Regions from separate parts of the Homo sapiens genome. Here all the other regions are linked to region 1. The links are contacts of gene promoters, found by promoter capture Hi-C in human tissues and cell types (Jung and others, 2019). All regions are on one chromosome and are shown on one strand. The core of a region is centred on a gene start or on the middle of the fragment in contact, and the rest is flanking DNA. Distances in the headings are between cores, read along the strand shown.

Region 1 (2,994 bases), core at 255-2,754:
TAATGAACACATAGGCTACAGTTTTCTTTGCTGAGAAACTGGAACACAAGTATGGAATAGTGGAGTCATGGGGGTGACCAGGGTGAAAGATGCCTGATCTCTGAAGCACAGGGTCATTTGTATTTCCAAGGAGTTAACCTCTTGTGGTGAAATGAGGCCAGTCAGGTTTCCTCAACTATCAACGTCTCCAACAATCACCCAACACAACAGAAAGAGATACAGAAGAAGGGCTGTTGGGGATCTCTGACCAGAGGCCAAAGAAAAGGGACACACAAGGGGCTTGGTTCTTACCCAGCCGCCGTTCTCCTGGATCCAAGGCTCTAGGTGGTCATTCAGGTAAGTGGCCATCCAAGCTGCGATCCGACTCACCAATACCTGCATCTCCTTGTCTACGCTTTCCACGCACAGTGCCCCGCCGAAGGAGAAAAAGGCCACAATGCGACCCCAGTTTACCCCATCCCGGAAGAGTTCATTCACTACCTGTTCAAAGCTCTGATATGCTGTCCCTGGGGTGATGTGGAGCTGGGATGTCAGGTCACTGAATGCCCGCCGGTACCGCAGTTCAAACTCGTCGCCTGCCTCCCTCAGCGCTTGCTTTACTGCTGCCATGGGGATCACCTCCCGGGCATCCAAACTGCTGCTGTGGCCAGTGGCTCCATTCACCGCGGGGCTGTCTGCCAGGTGCCAGGATGGGTTGCCATTGATGGCACTGGGGGTCTCCATCTCCGATTCAGTCCCTTCTGGGGCCTCAGTCCTGTTCTCTTCCACATCACTAAACTGACTCCAGCTGTATCCTTTCTGGGAAAGCTTGTAGGAGAGAAAGTCAACCACCAGCTCCCGGTTGCTCTGAGACATTTTTATAATAGGGATGGGCTCAACCAGTCCATTGTCCAAAACACCTGCTCACTCACTGAGTCTCGTCTCTGGTTAGTGATTCTCTTCTAAGATCCAAAGCCAAGATAAGATTCTGAAGGGAGAGAAAGAGCTTCAGGAAAAAAAAATAATTAATATGCATGCCATTTACCCTAAAAATTCCATTCCCCCTCCAGGTACCAGAACTGGTTTCTTTGTGGGTCTTACGAAGGTCTGGGTCTAGGTTCCAAGATACTTCACTTAAGTCAAATCGAAAGCACCAGTGGACTCTGAATCTCCCACCAGCCTTTTCTACCCCCGTCTTCTCCGAAATGCCTTCCTCGGAAAGTCACTCCCTGGGCAGTCCCCCCCGCCCCACTCCCGCTCCCCCGCACCACCTACATTCAAATCCGCCTTAGGCAAAGGCAGGCAGGTGCAGCCCCCGGAAGATCTTTTGTATCACAGGTCGGGAGAGGAGGTGGCTGCGGGGATGCCGGTAACTCAGCCGGCCTCGCGGTGGCTGGCAAAAAAACCAGCTCCGGCCGGAGGGATCATGCGACCCGGCAGGCTGGGAGCCCAGAAGGCGACACAGGAATTGCGAAGCTCAGGAACCAGCCCCCTCGCTTGCTTCCTCCTCCATCGCCCGGATCGAGGGCGGCCGCTCCGCAGCCGCGGCCTCCTGCCACCCGGGAGCCCAGCCCCCTCTCTCTTGCACGCCCCTTGGCTCTCCGCCTCCTACTGGGAGCCAGGAGTACTCTCCCGGAGGTGGCTGGTATGGATTTAGTTGGTTTTTGTTTTTCTTTTTTCTATTTAAGCACCAGCCCAGGGTGAGGTGGAGGCGTCCGAAACCCTAAAGGGACTTCTCAATGGGGTTCAAGGTTTCAGTGAGGGACGCAGGGAGGGGGAAACTGCCTCAGATCTGCAATCTGACTTTGGGAAGGCCACCCCCAGGCCTGTCTGTGATGTTGAAGGCCGGAGACCCCCAACAAATGCCGCTGGTTTGCTCTGAATTCCCCAAAGGCCCAGAACGTGGCAGTTGGGGATTGCCGGGTCCTCCATTCCCCGCCCGGACACAATGGCCGCCGGCGCCCTGCACAAAGACTGGGTGAGGGTGAGGCGCTGGGCCTCTCCTCAGGTCAGGAAGAGGGGTCGAGGCCTGCTCGACGGCCCCACAGCTGAGACCACGTTTTCCTGGGGACAGGCCCAAAGTGGCTTTCTGGCGCCCCCGGGAGGGCTCCGGGGCCGGGGGCTGCACCTCTCCGGAGCCCAGGGTGGGCCGGCTGCGGCCTAGCGGCTTCTCGAGCTCACTAGGCCGGGTACCCGCCGAGCCACCGCCCCGTTGCTAGGCAACCGCCCTCCCCCGGGGGCGCCCCCTAGACCTTCCTGAGAGGAGGGGCCTCGCCCCCGGCGGTCCGCCCCAGCGCAGCCAATCAGCGAGCCCAGCCGGCACGGAAGCGGGACGGCGAAGGCTCCTATTGGGCGCAACGGCTGTCACGCACAGGGGAGGCGGCGCTCTCACCTGCGAGCCCCGCGAGCCGTGGGGGGCCACATCCCCCTTCATCGGCCCGGTAGCTTCCAGACGCAAGAGCTCTTCGCGGCCGAGTTCCGCGCCGCGGACCCGGGCCGGCCTACCTGGCTGCCGGCCTACCTGGCTGACTGCTCGCGCCGTCTCTCCCGAACAAGCCGGCCTCAGTTTCCCCTGAAGAGACAGGGGAACTTGCAAGCTCAGTCACTTCCGGTGCCGCGGCAACGCGCGCGAGCCCGAGACGCAAAGGGAGTGCGCGCCTTGAGTGACTGGCATCAGGACCGGGGAGAGATCGCCCCCTCGCGGTAGATCTGGGGAATCGGGAGGCGCAAAAAATCAACATTTATAATCACATTTCCATTTATTCATTCAGTCAGTCAGTCAGTCACTCATCAGTCAATCAGCCTATTTCATCCGTCCGTCAGTTTATATATAGAAGAAGCATCGCCTTGTGGTTAAGCACTTTGTCTGGATTCTAACTCTGCTAGTTAGGCAAGTTTCTCAACTGCTCTGTGCTTCAATGTCCTCAATTGTAAAATGGGTAATAGTACCAACCTCTCTCGTTGAGCTATTGTGATGATTAAGAGAGTTATTAATTGTAAACTCCATAGGACAGG
Region 2 (2,994 bases), core at 300-2,799, 250 kb after region 1:
GCTCTATGGTTTCTTGGATATGGATAAAAGGACTAGCTATTTCTACTATCTCCCATTTGCAAAATGAGGAGGCTGGGATGAGATAAGTTTGTAGGGATAACAATCTAATAGCTCTTAGGTTGAATGTGGCTTGTGGAAGTGTTTTGTGTGGCTTGCATAGTATTTTAAAAACCCAGAGTCGTAGCTTCCCTTTAAAAAAATTGGATCTAGCAGTATCAATCCTGTAACAATTTAGAAAGAGTCTATGTGCTCTAATTTGTCCATCTTTCCCTTTGATCATATCTGTACTATTTCACTTAGACATGAAAGCCCTAATTTACAGTTCTATAACAATTATTTTATTAAACACTGACTTTGTGCCAAGCCTACTGGTTGCCTTTTTACCTGCTTTATTTCCTGTACCCCTTCTAATCATCCTGTCATGTGGTTAGCATTATAATTTCTACTTGACAGATGAGGGAATGGAGGCTCAGAGAGGGGGCATCCTTGTCCAAGGTCACACAGCTAGGAACTTGAAGAGCTGAGACTCCAGGCTCTCTGCCTTTAAAGCCTGAGTTCAATTTATCCACCTTGTAATTCTGCCACTAAAGTGTCCCTCAAGCTTAAAGAAGTATGAATCTGAGATTCCAAGATTCCAGTATGATAGAAAGTCAGGGCTTCTGTTGCACTGAGATAAGAATGTGAAAAGAGGGGCAGGGAGTTGAACTATGTGGGTGAGGACGGGAACAGTGTGTATTGTGGGGAAAAGGCTGGATTCGGGGGTGGTCTGGTCAGGAGGCTGACATCTTTATCCTAGTTTGTAACTATAGTTTGCTGGGTGACCTTGGGCAAGGCTCTTTCCATCTTTGGGTCTCGGTTTCCCTGTGTGTGAAATGAGATTCAATGTGATGACCTTAAGAGTTTCCCATTCCTGAAATTCTGACTCTGGGTCTATTGCCAAAGCAAAAGCCTCTGGGCCCTTGCCCCCAAAATCTTTGGATTCTAAAATGGCTAAGGGCCTGGATAAATGGAGGGAAAACCCAGAGAAGGTATAGAGAAGCTGCAGGGGCTGGCATTCCTAGAAATTAAGCAATGTTGGCCCAGCACATTTGCTTACCACGTGAGATGTTCCCACAGATGTTCTGAGTGGTGGGGCCTGGGGTAATGAAGAGGGAGATGTGTGATTGAGTCCTCCAGAATCACACCTGGGAGGCTAGGCAGTCACTCACCTCCTGATCCCATTTCCTCAATTCTGAATAAAATAATTATAATCATGAAGATATTTTTCAACCTCTTAGACTTGTAAAATCCTGAATTAAAAATTCAAATGCTTTGAGGACCCAGGCAGGTAACAGACCATAAGACCATAAGATACAAGGGGTGTCAGACAAGAGGACATTCAGGGGCAAGTAGTGTCCGAGGAAAAGGGAAGCTCCAGCTGATCATGCCATGAGAAATCGTGGACCCAGTCTTGATTTCTCAAGAGAAATGGGAAATTGGGATTTTTCCGTGAACTCTCCAAAATTTAACTACTAATTAAAATGTTTAAAAATAGTGTCAACCAAAGGAAACATATTTATTAGCCTGTCTTCTTTGTAACCTCTGGTTTAGCTCTTCAAATTGATAAGGTCTTTTCACACAGAAGATTTTATTACTAATTTAAACATAAAATGAAGCTCTGAAGAGAGAGAGGAGGAGAAAGCATACACAGACACTGCACACCTACCGTGTCCCCACAGGCCCTGTGTGAGTGTTTCAGGCATGTGATCTCATGTTACTCTGAAACCCTCCCCCCTGGTGACTATTGATATACCCATTTATCAGATAAGGAACCTTGTCCAAAAGTCACCCACTGAGGAAGTGAGGAAAGGTGATCAGTCCCAAACCTAGCTCTATCTTTTACACCACACACTGGCTACTTTGGGACATGCCAGAACAATATCTTTGTGCACAGAGAGATTGAACTCTGAGGGAACAGCAAACAGATCCTCTGGCGGGGCACGAAGCTGGCTGTGGCCTGGACACCAACCTGCAACTTCATCCCTCCCTTCCCTTTAAACTCTCTGAGCTGTTAAACTGCCCAGGGTTCTTAAGCTAATTAAAGTCCTAACCCTGTCCCCTCTGACCCTGTAGGCAGCAGAGCAGTAAGCCATGAATCCTGCTTTTCCTAATCTTGAGCTCAGTGGGCCCCAGCTTCACCCAGATAAGCATGGTTTGCTAAGCCAATTAGTGGGAGACGATCTGACATGGGATTCCTGCCAGGCTTTCGGGATCTGGGAACCCCAAAATGGGGAGAAAATTAGGCAATTGGGATTTAGGGGCCCTCCCTCTAATGCCCTCTCTATGCATAGGCCCAGACACTGCACTCTATGTCACCTAAGAAGCCCTGCATGACAGAGAAGTTCTGGAATGAGTTAGTGACCTATTGGAAGGAAATGTCAGGCTCTGGATTTCCCCTCTGGGAAACTACATTCTTGGCATAACGGTTGAGAGGGTTGAGAGCACGGACTCTAGATTCAAGTGTCCTCAGTTTAAATCCAGACTTTACTACTTCTTATATGTGACCTTGACAAGGCAAATAATCTCTCATCCGTTGTAAACTAGGGACCAAAATTGTACCCACCCGCCTCTTAGGTTGTTTCAAGGTTTAATGAGATAATGTGTAAGGGTTCAGCAAAGGGCTCATTCCATCGTTAAATGCTCAGAAACTGCTGGCAATGATTAGTGCATTAGCTTGGGCTTTGCTCCCTGTGGAACAAAGCTTTGTTCACGGAGCACATGGCAGGACAGCAAGGGGGTCCTGAAGTCCCTTGAAGCCATAATGACATGGCAGTCATTCATTTAATCTGCAGTCATTCATTCAGCAGACATTTATTAAGCACCTGCTGTATACCAGGCACTGTTCTAAGTGCTGGGAATAGAGTGGTGAACAAGACAAAGTCCTTGCCCTCTTGGAGCTCAATAGCCTAATGAAGGAACCAATAAGAAAATAAACTATGATATATATTATATGGG
Region 3 (2,994 bases), core at 254-2,753, 190 kb before region 1:
GCACTGGAGTTTGTAACTGCATTGAACATTTTTAAAACTTCAGGGCTGAGTGTAGTGGCTCACGCCTGTAATCCCAACGCTTTGGGAGGCCGAGGCGGGCAGATCACCTGAGGTCAGGAGATCAAGACCAGCCTAGCCAACATGGTAAAACCCCGTCTCTACTAAAAATACAAAAAAGTTAACCGAGCGTGGTGGCCCATGCCTGTAGTCCCAGCTACTTGGGAGGCTGAGGCAGGAGAATCGCTTGAACCCAGGAGGCAGAGGTTGTGGTGAGCCGAGAACATGCCACTGCACTCCAGCCTGGGTGACAGAGTGAGACTTCGTCTCAAAAAAAACAACAACAAAAAAACTTCATATTTTCCTGATGCCTCAACATCCCACAAATAGGCCATGAACACTTTGCCCAGGTGAACAGGTGCCAGTGTGATAAGGCTGGTCCCTGCGACAAGTTCCCTTTCTTGCCCTCCTCTACTCTGACCTAGTGACATTCAGACACATCAGTGAGATCCCCTTTTGCTTGTGTCTTTCACCCTGAGCCCCAAAGAAGGCACTTGGCCGTGGGTCTCCTTCTGTAGGACCTGTGAGTATAATAAATCCTTTCATTTCATATGCCTCTCTCTCAAGGACTTTCACACTGAGTTTAGAATGATCCCATCCTCATCACCAATTGTGTTGTAAAAAAGATGTTCCCCTTGTGAGGTTTTTTTGTCCTTGTTTTTACAGGCAGGGTCTTACTCTTTCACCCAGGCTGGAGTGCAGTGGTGCGATTGTAGTTCACAATAACTTTAAACTCCCAGGCTCAGTTAATCTTCCCACCTCAGCCCCCTGGGTAGCTGGGACTACAGGCATGCACCACCACGCCCGCCTAATTTTTTTTTATTTTGTAGAGATGGGGTCTTGCCATGTTGCCTATGCTTCTTGAACTCCTGGCCTCATGCAATCCTCCCGCCTTGGCCTCCTAAAGTGCTGGGATTACAGGCGCAAGCCACTGCACCCAGCCCACTTTATGAAGTCTTTAAGGATCACTCGCACACAGCCACAGAAACTATGCTCAGAGAGGCTTATGAAATTACAGGATTTACTATACTCACATGTTCTAGAGAAGGAGGCATGCATGCCACACAGGGGGCCATATGGGAGGAGCTCCAAGGAAGCCACTCAACCAAGCAGGTAGGGAGAAGGGGGAGAGGACAGAAGGAAGGAAGGAGAGGGGAGGACCCCTGGGCAAGTGCCTTTGTTAGGGCTCAGGGTAGTACAAGCAAAGGGCATGAGGGGATTTACCATGTGTTTGAATGGTATTAGGTCATAGAAGAAGAAGACCAGAGGCTGGGCACCGTGGCTCACGCCTGTAATCCCAGCACTTTGGGAGGCCAAGGCAGCAGATCGTTTGAGCCCAGGAGTTAAAGATCAGCCTGGCCAACATGGTGAAACCCTGTCTCTACAAAAAATACAAAAATTAGCCAGGCGTGGTGGCACACACCTGTAGTCCCAACTACTTGGGGGCTGAGGCAGGAGGATCACTTGAACCCTGGAGGTCGAGGCTGCAGTGAGCCAAAATCAGGCCACTGCACTCCAGCCTAGGCAACAAAGTGAGACCCTGTTTCGAAAGAAAAAAAAGAAGAAATGGGCCGGGTGCAGTGGCTCACGCCTGTAATCCCAGCACTTTGGGAGGCCGAGGCGGGCAGATCACGTGGTCAGGAGATCGAGACCATCCTGGTAACATGGTGATACCCCGTCTCTACTAAACAAAATACAAAAATTAGCCGGGCGTGGTGGCAGGCGCCTGTAGTCCCAGCTACTCAGGAGGCTGAGGCAGGAGAGTGGCGTGAACCCGGGAGGCACAGTTTTCAGTGAGCCAAGATCGTGCCACTGCACTCCAGCCTTGGTGACAGAGCAAGACTCCGTCTCAAAAAAAAAAAAAGAAGAAGAGGAGGGCCAGAAGGAGAACCTGGGCAGAATGTTCATATCCTATTTGTGGGGATGTTGAGGCATCTGTAAAGTAAGTTTTTAAAATAAGTTTTAAATTTGCACAATATAGTAATATTTCACAAAATCATAGTATTTACTTTATCCCACCTTATTTAAAATTGATTCCTTTGAGGCAACTCAAAAAATTAAATCCAACAGCATAAGAAAAACAGAAGAAATAGAGTTAAAGGAGAAAATTAAAATAAGATAAAACAAGGCTTGGGTGAGGACCACACCCATACCCCATGCTCTAAAGCCTGTACTCTTGCTAGAAATGGGCTTAGTTGTGGCTCTGGCTTTTTAGCAGCCAAAACACAAAGGAAAGTGAGACCTGGTGCCCAATCCACATGGGTCACAGTGAAACCAACAAGAAGCTCAGAGGTGTGGCCTGAGAGTGATTTGTCCCAAGGGCTCAGACTGAAAGAATGCAATGTGAGAGGTATGCCACATCTTCATAAATAAAGCACAATCCATATGCCTACAAAGTCTGCTCATAGGTCTTTTTCTTGTAGCACTAACATGGACCACCAATTTGCCCTTCCATTCAGTCATTCTGCATTTATTGAGAGCCTGCTACATCAGGCCCTGGCTGGGTACTGGGGATACTGAAGTGAGAAAAACAGCTGACCATCCCTGTCCTCAAGAAGCATCTTGTTAAGTGGTAGAGACAGACACCAATCACACAGATAGATGTGAAGTTACAGCTGTACAAAGTGCTGTTAAGGCGAGGTCCATAGCACCAGGAAAGCATGGAAGAACCAGCTCAGGGTGAACCTACACCCAAGGTGAACTGCCCAAGCCCCTTATCCACAACAGCACCTGCATTGACCTAGCTCAGCCGAAACTCCAGGAGTCATCCTTCTCCCTGTCCCCCCAAGCCCTTGTATCCAGCCCCTTCACACGTCTTGCAGCTCCAATTCCAGAACGGATCTGGAGGCTGGGTGCGGTGGGTCACGCCTGTAATCCCAGCACTTTTGGGAGGCCGAGGCAGTTGGATCACCTGAGGTCAGGAGTTCAAGACCAGCC

What was found. Contacts are between HindIII fragments. The study calls those that stand out against the background at their distance.
Region 2: a contact is called between a fragment that was not itself captured here and the fragment with the promoter of BCL2L1 in region 1, in 2 of the 25 tissues and cell types used here (dorsolateral prefrontal cortex and spleen).
Region 3: a fragment that was not itself captured here is called in contact with the fragment with the promoter of BCL2L1 in region 1 in 1 of the 25 tissues and cell types used here (spleen).

What each region holds. Positions count from the first base shown.
Region 1 is chr20:31,721,364-31,724,357 of GRCh38, forward strand. BCL2L1 (BCL2 like 1) reads right to left here and starts at 1,505. Exons shown (of 3, transcript NM_138578.3): 1 at 1,255-1,505; 2 at 292-985. The coding sequence starts at 855. RefSeq lists enhancers at 1,124-1,879, 1,814-1,873, 1,880-2,634, 2,404-2,603 and silencers at 1,244-1,363, 1,414-1,523, 1,423-1,717, 1,924-2,373. The HindIII fragment of the contact is 4,180 bases long and covers 1-2,994 here.
Region 2 is chr20:31,970,464-31,973,457 of GRCh38, forward strand. All of the region lies in intron 1 of XKR7 (XK related 7), which reads left to right. Among named protein-coding and RNA genes, the nearest start is that of XKR7, 3.8 kb to the left of the region's middle. RefSeq lists enhancers at 1,613-2,114, 2,115-2,614 and a silencer at 1,703-1,997. The HindIII fragment of the contact is 4,685 bases long and covers 1-2,994 here.
Region 3 is chr20:31,533,178-31,536,171 of GRCh38, forward strand. The region is part of intron 2 of HM13 (histocompatibility minor 13); the gene reads left to right. Among named protein-coding and RNA genes, the nearest start is that of MCTS2, 13 kb to the right of the region's middle. The HindIII fragment of the contact is 6,554 bases long and covers 1-2,994 here.